3 separate regions of the Homo sapiens genome follow, and regions 1 and 3 are each linked to region 2. Evidence: promoter capture Hi-C in human tissues and cell types (Jung and others, 2019). All regions are on one chromosome and are shown on one strand. Each heading gives the region's core, a stretch centred on a gene start or on the middle of the fragment in contact. The rest is flanking DNA. Distances are from core to core; before and after follow the strand shown. Region 1 has its middle 30 kb from the start of ADAM18. Region 2 holds the start of ADAM2 (ADAM metallopeptidase domain 2). Region 3 has its middle 210 kb from the start of ADAM18.

What was found. Contacts are between HindIII fragments. The study calls those that stand out against the background at their distance.
Region 1: a fragment that was not itself captured here is called in contact with the fragment with the promoter of ADAM2 in region 2 in 1 of the 25 tissues and cell types used here (H1 embryonic stem cells).
Region 3: a contact is called between a fragment that was not itself captured here and the fragment with the promoter of ADAM2 in region 2, in 1 of the 25 tissues and cell types used here (dorsolateral prefrontal cortex).

The regions. Positions count from the first base shown.
Region 1 is chr8:39,553,018-39,556,908 of GRCh38, reverse strand. No RefSeq gene overlaps it. Among named protein-coding and RNA genes, the nearest start is that of ADAM18, 30 kb to the left of the region's middle. The HindIII fragment of the contact is 3,357 bases long and covers 845-3,891 here.
Region 2 is chr8:39,836,020-39,839,834 of GRCh38, reverse strand. It overlaps ADAM2 (ADAM metallopeptidase domain 2), which reads left to right and starts at 1,608. Exons shown (of 21, transcript NM_001464.5): 1 at 1,608-1,704; 2 at 2,623-2,699. The coding sequence starts at 1,650. The HindIII fragment of the contact is 9,732 bases long and covers 1-3,815 here.
Region 3 is chr8:39,373,515-39,377,708 of GRCh38, reverse strand. It overlaps the pseudogene ADAM5. Among named protein-coding and RNA genes, the nearest start is that of ADAM18, 210 kb to the left of the region's middle. The HindIII fragment of the contact is 3,018 bases long and covers 1,181-4,194 here.

The DNA of each region.
Region 1 (3,891 bases), core at 1,274-3,773, 280 kb after region 2:
TAGGGGACTCCATTAAGACAACACAGAGGGGCGGTTTCCAGGGTCTGAGGGGAAGGGAGAATGTGAGCAACTGCTTAATGGGTCAGGGGTTTCCTTTTGTGTTGATGAACATGTTTTGGAAGTAGATAGATGTACAACGTTGTGTATGTACTAAATGCCACTGAGTTGGCCACTTGAAAATGGTCAATTTTATGATTTGTGAATTTCACTCCAATTTAAAAAAATTTCTAGTGAAAGCACTCATAGTTAAAATGCATCCTATTTTCTTCAAAATATCTTTTTTCTTCAAAAAAAACTAGAAAGTATTTATGCTTAATGAAAATAAAATGTCTGATAGACATCTTTTTCATTTTGCAGTTCAAGTAATTTTCTTTTCAAGATCTGTTCCACCTCCACTATGAGGGGGTTATAAATCTCATGAATCTGCTTCTGACACAGGGTAATAATCTGAACACTCACCCTCAGATACAGTGATAGTACAGTGATGGGAAATTCAGTTTCACAAGATCAGTCATGTTTTCCTCCACTACCAAGTATTGAAATGAATGTTGGAAGGGAGAAGCTCTCTCTACTCTTCTGAAATATTGCACACTGTGGACTAAAAAAGCAAAGAGCTAAAATGACCTATTGCTATCATATATGAAAGCTTGTTAGAATTGTCAGCCAGAATGCAAAGATACCCAAGAGATACATAGATCAAAAATCTTGTTACTATTTGAAACAAAGATTCACTTAGCAGGAGGCTAGCCCCATCTTCCACCTGATCTTCTGCAGTGTTTTCCTTTTATGGCCATTCATTATCAAGACAAACTGACCAATACATTACCAATATTATCTAGTACCAATCATATTTTTTTAGACATTACGAAGAGGAATATCTTAATAATGATTACAAACATGTTAATCACTGTTATGTGTTAGCAAAGCAGCTGTTTCAACAAAGCAGCTGTTTCTTTTTTATCTTTGAACTTAGGGTTGTGTCTATTAGTAAGCAGGAAATGTATTTTTAAAAATTGCATCAAATCCTTAAATTTAATACAAGCTTTATTGAAACTGGCCTGTTAGAGAGTAGACAGAAAAGAAAAACAGAAAGTTTTTTGTACTTACGATCAATAGTAAAAGAGAGCAATAAAAACTTCCTGTCTTACACTTTGGGTTACTCAGAAGCCTCCTTGAATTTTTCTCCTGGTTAGGCTGTAAATTTTCCAAACTTTGATGCTCTGCTTTTCTTTTAAATAAGGTTCCAGCTTTAAGTCATTTCTTTTCTCTTGTGTATGAACATAGGCTGTTAGAAGCAGCCAAGCCAAACTTAAATACTGCTTCCTAGAAATTTCTTCTACCAGTTATTATAAATCATCACTCTTTAATTCAACTTCCACAGATCCCTAAGACATGAACAGAATGCAGCCAAGCTCTTTGATGAGGCATAAAATTTGTGACAATTGATCCAGGTCCCAATAAGTTCCTCATTTCCATCTGAGACCACCTCAGTCTAGACTTCATTGTCCATATCACTATCAGCATTTTGGCCACAAGCATTTAATCAGTCTCTAAATGAAGTTCCAAACTTTCCCTCATATTCCTGTATTTTTCATAGTCCTCCAAACTCTTCCAGCCTTTACTTGTTACTCAATTCCAAAGTCACGTCAACATTTTCAGGTATCTTTACAGCAATACCTCACCTCTGGTACCAATTTTCTGTATTTGGCCATTCTTGAATTGCTATAAAAAAATACCTGAGACTGGGTAATTCATAAGAAAATAGGTTTAATAGGCTCATGGTTCTGCAGGCGGTACAGGAAGCATAGCAGTATCTGTTTCTGGGGAGACTTCAGGATGCTTCCAATTATGGCGGAAGGCAAAGGGGAAGCAGTCACATCACATGGTGAAAGCAGGAGCAAGAGAGCAAGGGGTGGGGTGCTACATACTTTTAAATGACCAGATCTCATGAGAACACACTCCCTAGTGTTAGAACTGTACCAAGGAGAATAGTGCTAAACCATTCATGAAAAATATGCCCCCATGATCCAATCACCTCCCACAAGGCTCCACCTCCAACATTGGGGGATTACATTTCAATATGAGATTTGGGTTGGGACACAGGTGCAAACTATGTCAATATTTTAATATATAGATCTTACATAAATTTGAATTTTCCTACATAGGCACAGCAGACCCTTCAAAATCAGGAAATAATGGTGTGGTACAAACATTTATATACATCACAATATTGGCATTTTGTAGCAAAATGATGCAGTTCAGAATCAAACATCACGTTTAGTTCTCACATCTCCTTACCTTACATTCCTAAGATTTTTTTTTTGATTGATTTTCATGATTTTGATAAGTTTGATGATTACAGGCCAATTTTGGGGTAGAAATTACCTTAATTTAGGTTTATAAAATATATTTTTATGATTAGACTGAGGTTATGCATCTTTACAATATTATTATAGCAGTGTTGCTTTGTTTGTTTCATTGCAATACAAAAAGTTGTGAACAATCTCGATTTGTTATATTACTGAGAATAGTCACTTTGATCAGTTGATTAAGGTGTCCATGCCAGTATTCCCTGGAAAATTACTTTTTTTTCCTTTGTCTGTTGATAATTCCTTGGAGAGAAACCCTTTGGTTTTATGTAAACAATCCATTTCTAATTATATTTTAAATACATTAATGTATTTATATCAGTTTGGAATCATGTTTTCATATTTTACTCAATGGGTTGTAATCCATTAGTACCATTATAATCTTTGACATTCGAATTGTCCCAGTTTTGGCCTGTTGGAGCCCTTTCTAACTGGCCTTTGTGTTATCTCCATGATACTTTGTGAATCTCCTTATTTTTTATAGAAGGCATTCCAGGCTAATTTTTAATTTTCTCTGCCTGAGCCTTGGAACCAGTCATTTCTTCAAGATATCCATATTTCTTTTAGTGGAAAATAATATTGAAAAAGTGTAATCTGGATGAGACATTTGCTCATTTTTACCAGATTTTTTCTGGACAGAGATCGAGACCATATCAGCATCTTAAGTAATGTTAATAGCTCTTTTCCTCTCACCCACAATTTGCAAAATCTCCACCAATTTCAGCTCCTATAATGCTATGAACTTACAAATAAACATTCTTCATGGGAACAAAAAATTTTTGAGGTTTTTATTAGTCCAAAATTTCTGAGTTCCCAGTCTGTATGATTTTTAGGTCCCCATTGTATTCCATTTCCTCCCACACCACTACTTATTAAATGCAGGTTTTATTTTGGCAGTTGATTGGCCCCACCTGCTGGTATTCTGTGTGTTCTGGTTTTGGGGAACTTGCATATGCTTTTGTGTGTCTGTGTGTCTCTATGTGTTTGTATGTATATACATATGTTTTTATAGTTTTTCTTTCTATTTTATAAGATAATTTGGAGACACTAAACTACATCCTGATGTTTTTACCACTTGGCTCCCAACCCTTCCTTTATTCTTTTTTTTTTTTTTTTTTTTTTTTTTGAGATGGAGTCTTGCTCTGATGCCCAGGCTGGAGTGCAGTGGTGCAATCTCGGCTCATTGCAAGCTTTGCCTCCTGGGTTCACGCCATTCTCCTGCCTCAGCCTCCCGAGTAGCTGGGACCACAAGTGCCCACCACCATGCCTGGTTAATTTTTTGTATTTTTAGTAGAGATGGGGTTTCACCACGTTAGCCAGGATGGTCTCGATCTCCTGAACTTGTGATCTGATTCCACTCTAGGTAAAATTACACCTTAACATGGTTGTTGTCCTAATATTTTCTTTCTTTCTGATCCTTCATATTACTGACTTTCCCTCAATTTTTAGCCTATAAATATAAGCAATTTTCAAAGCTTTCTCTAAGATACCTCTTTTAACTTGATAACTTCTTTCTAAATGA
Region 2 (3,815 bases), core at 359-2,858:
AAAACTTAATAAAAATTATACATTCCAAGACCTATTTACCCAGTATAAAGAGAAACATCACAAATTATCAACATTGAGAATGGAAGAAGAGATATGTCTGCAGGTGCTATAGACCTTAAAAAGTTGCTAGAGGAGAGGAAGTCATTATGAACAACTTTTGTCAATAATTTAACAACCCCAAAGAAATGGACAAATTCCTTCAGAAACATAACTTTCTCAAACCAACACGAAAAGAAAAAAATATGAATATTTTAAAGAAATTAGATAAAAAAGTAAATAAATCTTCTCATGAAGAAAACTCCAGGTCATAATCACTCCATTTCTAAATGCTAAGAAACATTAAAAGAATAAATATTCACAGCATTACACTATTTCAAAGATTAAACGAAGAGATAACATTTCTTAATTTCTTTTATGAGGGCAGCATGTCTTGATATAAAAGTTGGTAAGTTCATTACAATGAAGGAACATTACAGACAACACAACAACACAACAAGGCATTGATGTGTACGAAGTGGAATTTTCATATACTTCTGGTGAGAGTATAAATTAGTACAGTCTTGGAAAACTTGTCGGAAGTATCTACCAACACATACCCTGTGATCCGACAACTTCACTCTAGAAATATACACAGTAGAAATCCTTACTTATTACACCAAAAGGCATGTAGAAGAATGTTTATAGCTAAATATTATTTTTAATAGCTGGAACAATAAACAAACAAAATATTCATTAACAGTAAAATGGAAACACAAGTGGTGTTATATTTAATGAATTTGTAATATACACCAATGAGGATAAAACAGAACTATTGCTTTGTATGAACCTTACAATCATCCTATTAAAAGAACCCAGACATGAAAGAGTAGATGGTGATTGCTTCTACTTGCGAAAAGTTCAAAAACAGACAAAACGAATCTTTGGTTGTTTAGAAGTCATGGTTGTGAGGTTGGAATCTGGGGATTTGGGTGGTTCTTTTTCATTTCTTCATCGTGGTACTAGTTACGCTGTTTTTTTTTTCCACTTGAATATTAATTGACCTGTGAACTTATGATTTATTATATACTTTTTTTCGTTTTTTGTTTCGTTCTTTTTTTTTTTTTTTTTTTTTTTTTTGACGGAATTTCGCTCTCTCACCCAGGCTGGAGTGCAGTGGTAAGGTCTTTCTGCTCACTGCAACCTCTGCCTCCTAGGTTCAAGCGATTCTCCTGCCTCAGCTTCCCGAGTAGCTGGGATTTCAGGCACCCGCCACCATGCCTGGCTAATTTTTTTTTGTATTTTTAGTACAGACGGGGTTTCACCATGTTGCGGAAACTGGTCTCGAACTCCTGATACGTGTTTATATATATTCAATTGAAATTTTACTTAAGAAGTGTTTATAAATCTTCCTGTTCCTCAGCTGTTGGAAGTGATTTTGTTGTTGCTGTTGCCTTAATTAGGCATCACGTCCAGTGGAGTGCTTGTCCTGCAAGAGACAGGGCTCAGGAGCTCGCACGTTCCACAGCGCACCACACCCAACCTCAGCCCACCTGGGCTCTCCCAGCCGCCTACCTCTTCCAGGCTGCGTGGCCGGGGCGTCATCTCGCGCTTCCAACTGCCCTGTAACCACCAACTGCCATTATTCCGGCTGGGACCCAGGACTTCAAGCCATGTGGCGCGTCTTGTTTCTGCTCAGCGGGCTCGGCGGGCTGCGGATGGACAGTAGTAAGCAGAAAAACCCCTCCTCTGGCCTTTTGGGACCCTCAGCGCTACTCTCCCTTTGCCTCCAAGTTACATTGACATCCCTGGGAGGATGCTTTCCTGAGGGGTTTCCAACTCAGCAATTCCAAGCTCATCCCCGACATTGCCGCCTTCCCCACCCAAAATCCACGTAGAATAAGGGCTTTCCCACACGTCCTGGAAACCTAGGAAAGATAAGATAGGAGGTCCTAGGCCTTAAGAGGTTGCTTCAAAATTGTAGTTTCAGATCCTGCTTTGCATTTTTCACGACAGTGAAAGTTGAGACCCAACTTCTGTACTCTCTAGTTGAAGAGTCCAGAGTGAGTTAATTTGTCCTGAGGGGCTTGAACCTATTGACCCAAGGTTACCAGATCCTACCTACAGGGCAATACTCCTAAAGCAATACACCTACTTCTTTTTTAAAAAAATATGGCCGGGCACGGTGGCTCATGCCTGTAATCCCAGCACTTTGGGAGGCTGAGGAAGGCGTATCACGAGGTCAGGAGATCGAGACCATCCCGGCCAACATGGTGAAATCCCCCTCTACTAAAAATATAGAAAATTAGCTGGGGGTGGTAGTGCGTGCCTGTAGTCCCAGCTGCTGGGGAGGCTGAGGCAGGGGAATCGCTTGAAACCGGGAGGCGGAGGTTGCAGTGAGCAGAGATCTCACCACTGCACTCCAGCCTGGGCCTGGGCGACAGAGTGAGACTTCGTCTCAAAAACAAAAAAAAAAACAGAAAAACAGAAAAAAAAACCTCCTTGTATTTTTAGAAAGAAATGGGAAGATAATAAAAATGAGAAGCAGCGTATAGAATAGAGATTAGAGATTTAGATGAAAAACTCATAAAACACGCTCTGAAATGATGGGCATTGTTCTAATAAAACATTTTGCACATTTTGCAGATTTTGATAGTTTACCTGTGCAAATTACAGTTCCGGAGAAAATACGGTCAATAATAAAGGAAGGAATTGAATCGCAGGTAATGAATCACTAACAGTATTTACAAATTTAAAATGATGTAAAGATTTTGTTTCTAAGAAGTTAATCTGCCATTTTTCATTCATGCACACCTGTTGAATTTTATATTTATACCAAATTTTCCCTGAATGGAAAAGCCCTTTTGAAAATGAACCAGGATCAACAATGTTTCACAGAAATAATGGTGCAGTGATGCTGGTTATCAAAGCCCCAAGTCCATTTTCTGAATCTGTCTTCCTCTTGGATGTCTTTGAATAATCATTGGCTTGATTGTTCTAGAGATTCTGTTCTCACTCACCGTTCAGGCTGTATTTGGAGGAATTTTTTGTCATTGTTGCTAAGTAAGCCTTGGCTTGCTTATATGGGATGATGATCACTTGAATTAATGATGTGTTATATTAATGATTTTTTTAGCCCTGATTGCGAATATGTTAATGATTAGAACTCTTTCTTTCATGCTATTTTAGATTATTTTAGTTCAGAATTATTACTCTCTTTTTAAAATTTGAATTTAAAATCTTCTTATCATTTTCACTAAGTTCTAGAATCCATTTCTGAAGTGGAATGTGGTTTCTTGAGACATCAATTTTTTTTTTTTGGTTTGGTAGCAGATGTTCTGGTAATTTAAATGCAAACATTTCCTTAGCATATATCCATTTGTCATCCTAATACAGACATTATAGCTTAAGATGTTATTTAAATCATTTTTAAAGGAATGCATATCTATATATCTATTACTAAAACAAATCATTTAAATAGAAAAAAGCAGTGAGGCTTTTAACAATATTTTATGAAACATTTTTAATGTAAAATTATTATGGAGATGTTAATAATAGTAGAAAATAAGCAGAGAATCTATTTGGAGAGAAGTATTTCAAACAAGAATAACTTGATTGTTATAAGATAGTTATTTGCAATAAGTAAAAAAAAATGCCCATTTTCAACTGTCAAATTCATGAGGAAAAAATTGTCTATTTTGTTAATGTCTGTATTCTTCTTGCCTAGAACAGTGTCAGATACAAATGCTATGTGTATTTATGCTTTTGTGCACTAATCAGGCTCATTATTTTCTCATTTGTAAATGAGAAACTTGGAATAGCTGGTCATCAAAAAGTTC
Region 3 (4,194 bases), core at 1,440-3,939, 460 kb after region 2:
ACCCGTATAGCATGTTATTGTACAAAGAACTGGATTTAATATGCGTTGAAATACAGCTACCATTGAGGGTAAATTTTCATCAGGCTTCTATTGCCCTCAGGGGGCTAGCAAAGTGAGATTGTTTTTCAAAAATAAGTACAAAAACTGGTAGTCAAGTCCAGAATTATCACGTCCTAGATGCATGAACACATGGTCACTAGAAGTGGACATACATTATTTTGAAATCAAGGTGCTTTAGAAGTCATGCTTGCCTTCCAAAAAAAAAAAACTGTACTCTTTGGGGCAAATACCCGTGTACTCCCACAGTTCTCACAAAGGACTTTAAAATCTCTTAAAATCACTGATAATACTAAATACACAGTGAATGGCATAACCCGGAAGACACCTGATTGGCAATCCACTATGTGGCTCTAATTTTATCTGCCTAGCATTGAGTCCTGGCTTTACTTAAAGAAACATTAGATCATAGATCTGAAGTACTGTCCCATTCCTCCTAATTTTACTGGTCATTCGTTTGAATGATTTTGTTATTGTTTTTGTTTTCCAAGACGGTGTCTTGCTCTGTCGCCCAGGCTGGAGTGCAGTGGCGTGATCTCAGCTCACTGCAACCTCGGCCTCCTGGATTCAAGCGATTATCCCGCCTCATCCCAAGCACACCCGGCTAATTTTTGTATTTTTAGTAGAGACAGGGCTTCACCATGTTGGCCAGGCTGGTCTTGAACTCCTGACCTTGTGATCCGCCCGCCTTGGCCTCCCAAAGTGCTGGGATTACAGGCATGAGCTACTGGCCCCAGCTCTTTGTTTGTATGTTAACAATGTTTTAAAGTCTATAGCTATTGTCTTGCCATATGGTACAAATAATGATTCTGTTAGAAAAGCAGGACAAAATTATGAAAATCATCAAAACCCCCATCTCACCTTCTCCTTAAATTCCTGGCAGTCACATTGCTGTAGACAATATTTAGAGATCTATGACCTGGTTAGAGAAGACCTCAAGGGAGGGCTAAGAATGAAAAATTTCACTCTCTCGGAGAACATGCACTGCATACGTTCAGGAATTTGTATCTTCCAATCAAGCAAATGACATTTATAGGAAATTATCAAAATGGACTAGATTGCTAATGAACTGAAGCCCTCACTTTTCAGCAAGCGCTTAGAAACCCAACTAATCAGTGATTAGCCCTGCTTTCCTCTGATTAAGAAACCTTGTTTCCTTTAAACTAAACCCCCACCACAAATTCTATATAATATTTTGAAAAACTGCATTTTCACTTGAGGTTTATTTTCTGTTCCTACAGAAATTCCATATAAATTCAGAGAGGTTTTTTGTTGTTGTATTTCACAATCATGAAAATTTTGTTTTTGCGCCAGGCGCAGTGGCTCGTGCCTGTAATCCCAGCACTTTGGGAGCACGATGTGGGCAGATCACTTGAAGCTAGGAGTTTGAGACAAGCCTGGCCAACATGGTGAAACACTGTCTCTACTAAAAACACAAACTTAACCACCCATGACAGTGTGCTCCTGTTATCCCAGCTACTCCGTAGGCTGCGGCAGGAGGATCGCTTGAACCCAGGAGGATCGCTTGGACCAAAGAGGCGGAGGTTACAGTGAGCTGAGATCAGGCCACTGCACTCCAGCCTGGGCGACAGAGAGAAACTCCGTCTCAAAAAAGAAAAAGAAAAGATAATTTTGTTTTTTCTTTAACACTAATATACATTATGCAAGAATTCAGTCATTAACACATACATTTACATTTTTGTTCCATAAAATTCAATAACAGAGTTTGGAATAATCAGAATTTAGGGACTAAGAAGAAAATTATGATTATTACCTCTTCCAATTAAATCATCACATTGTTTGTCAAAAGTCCGACACTTTCCTTGAAAACAGAAGGCTCCACCTGAATCACAATATTCTCCATCACGTACATAAGTGTCAGGCAAACAGTATGGAAGGTCCCCATTGCAATATTCAGTGAAATCGCATTCTTTACCAACTGATTTCCTACAAATCATATTAGCCGGTTTGAACTAGGAGGAAAGAGAAACATAAAACTTTAAATATCAATGCTATTTAAGTTTTATTTCTGTGTAGGCTCTATATGCTGGTCCATTTTTTTCCCTAAGTTTCTAATAGCAATTAGAAAATTAAATCTTCTTGTTAACTATTTAAGCATCACACAGGATTCTTAAAATATCTCCTTTTAAAGCCTGCAACATTTTTAAAATGTTTATGATGAGGATTTATCATTTTATAAATGGCTGCTGATTTCTTCTTTAAGATTAATATGGAGAAACCAGAAACTGCCCAACTGAGCAGAGCCAAAATGGATTACAAGTAATTTTTATATCCCTAGCTCCACTTTGCCTTTCTTTCCTTTATGGATGTCTGCTTATCTTTGAGTTTCTAGCTTCTCTTATAAGCATTACCCATTTTTTTATGCACAAGAAATTTAATCACACAAATGATGAAGATATTCTAAGAACACGCAGGAGAAAGTTTATTTCATATTTATTTCAAATTTCATGTTGCAAAAAACTTAAAAATAACTTCCATAATTACATATTTCTGATCTGCTTCTGGGCTTCCCTTTCTACAAATTTACTTTTGCTAAGAAGCATCTAATCATCATCTCTGAAAACTCTTCTTTCTTCAACACATGCCCCAGTCTCTTATGGCTATTGTCATTATCCTATGCAAAGTAAATAAAAATTTTCCTAGCTTTCAAAGGTCCTGAAGGCCCAGCTTATATAACATTTATCTTCTCAAAATTGTTTTTCGCCAACTTTTTCTTAAGTTTTCAAGTATTTGCTATCTGTAAAAAGTCTCACACAAATTTTCCAGGTGATGCATGAGAAGACAAATACAATATCTACTGTCACTCAAGCTTACAGAGTCAACATTTAATTCAAAACTAATTGTTCAAAGTATTTATAGAGGAAAATTTGCATATGTATAATGAGAAAGTATCAACACTTGTTTCTTCAGAATTTGTTTCCTTTTACGAACTGGTATAAAAGGCAATCGTACTTTGATTCTAACTTTTTTTTTTTTTTTTTTTTGAGACGGAGTCTTGCTCTGTCACCCAGGCTGGAGTGCAGTGGCGAGATCTCGGCTCACTGCAAGCTCCGCCTCCCGGGTTCATGCCATTCTCCTGCCTCAGCCTCCCGAGTAGCTGGGACTACAGGCGCACACCACCACGCCTGGCTAATTTTTGTTGTATTTTTTAGTAGAGACAGGGTTTCACCGTGTTAGCCAGGATGGTCTCGATCTCCTGACCTCATGATCCGCGCGCCTCGGCCTCCCAAAGTACTGGGATTACAGGCATGAGCCACTGCCCCCAGCCTACTCTAACATTTTTAAAAATACCTGTGAACACTCACTTCCTCAAGTACTCTTTGAATCAAGCTTTATCATCCTACTGGCTCCTTCATTGAGAGGCAGAGAAAATTCTTTTAAAAATATTTTTACTTTGTAGGTATATGAGAGTCGTGACTTTAGAATATTGAAAAACTATATTTTCACAATCATTGAGGTAAAATTAAATAAATTGAATTGTGTTGCTCAAGAAGTGCACCTCATGGGCTCATCTTTTTTTGTTCTGGATCTCACCTTTATTATTATTAATTATTTCAATCGTTTGGGAGAACAGGTGGGGTTTGGCTACATGGATAAGTTCGTTAGGTGTGATTTCTGAAATTTTGTTGCACCCATGACCCAAGCAGTGTACACTGCACCCAGTGTGTAGTCTTTTATCCCTCACCCCACTCCCATACCTTCCCACGCATCTCCAGAGTCCATTATATTACTCTTATGCCTTTGTATCCTTATAGCTTAGCTCCCACTTATAAGTGAGAACATACGATGTTTGGTTTTCCATTCTTGAGTTACTTCACTTAGAATAACAGTCTCCAATTCCATCCAGGTTACTGCAAATGCCATTATTTCATTCCTTTTTATGGCAGAGTAGTATTCCATTGTATATGTGTATGTGTATATATGTATGTGTATATATATATGTGTATATATACGTGTATATATGTGTGTGTATATATGTGTATATATAGTGTATATATATGAGTATATGTATATATGTGTATATGTGTATATGTATATATGTGTATATATTTACACATATATACACTATATATGTATATGTGTGTATATATACACATATATACACTATATATACAC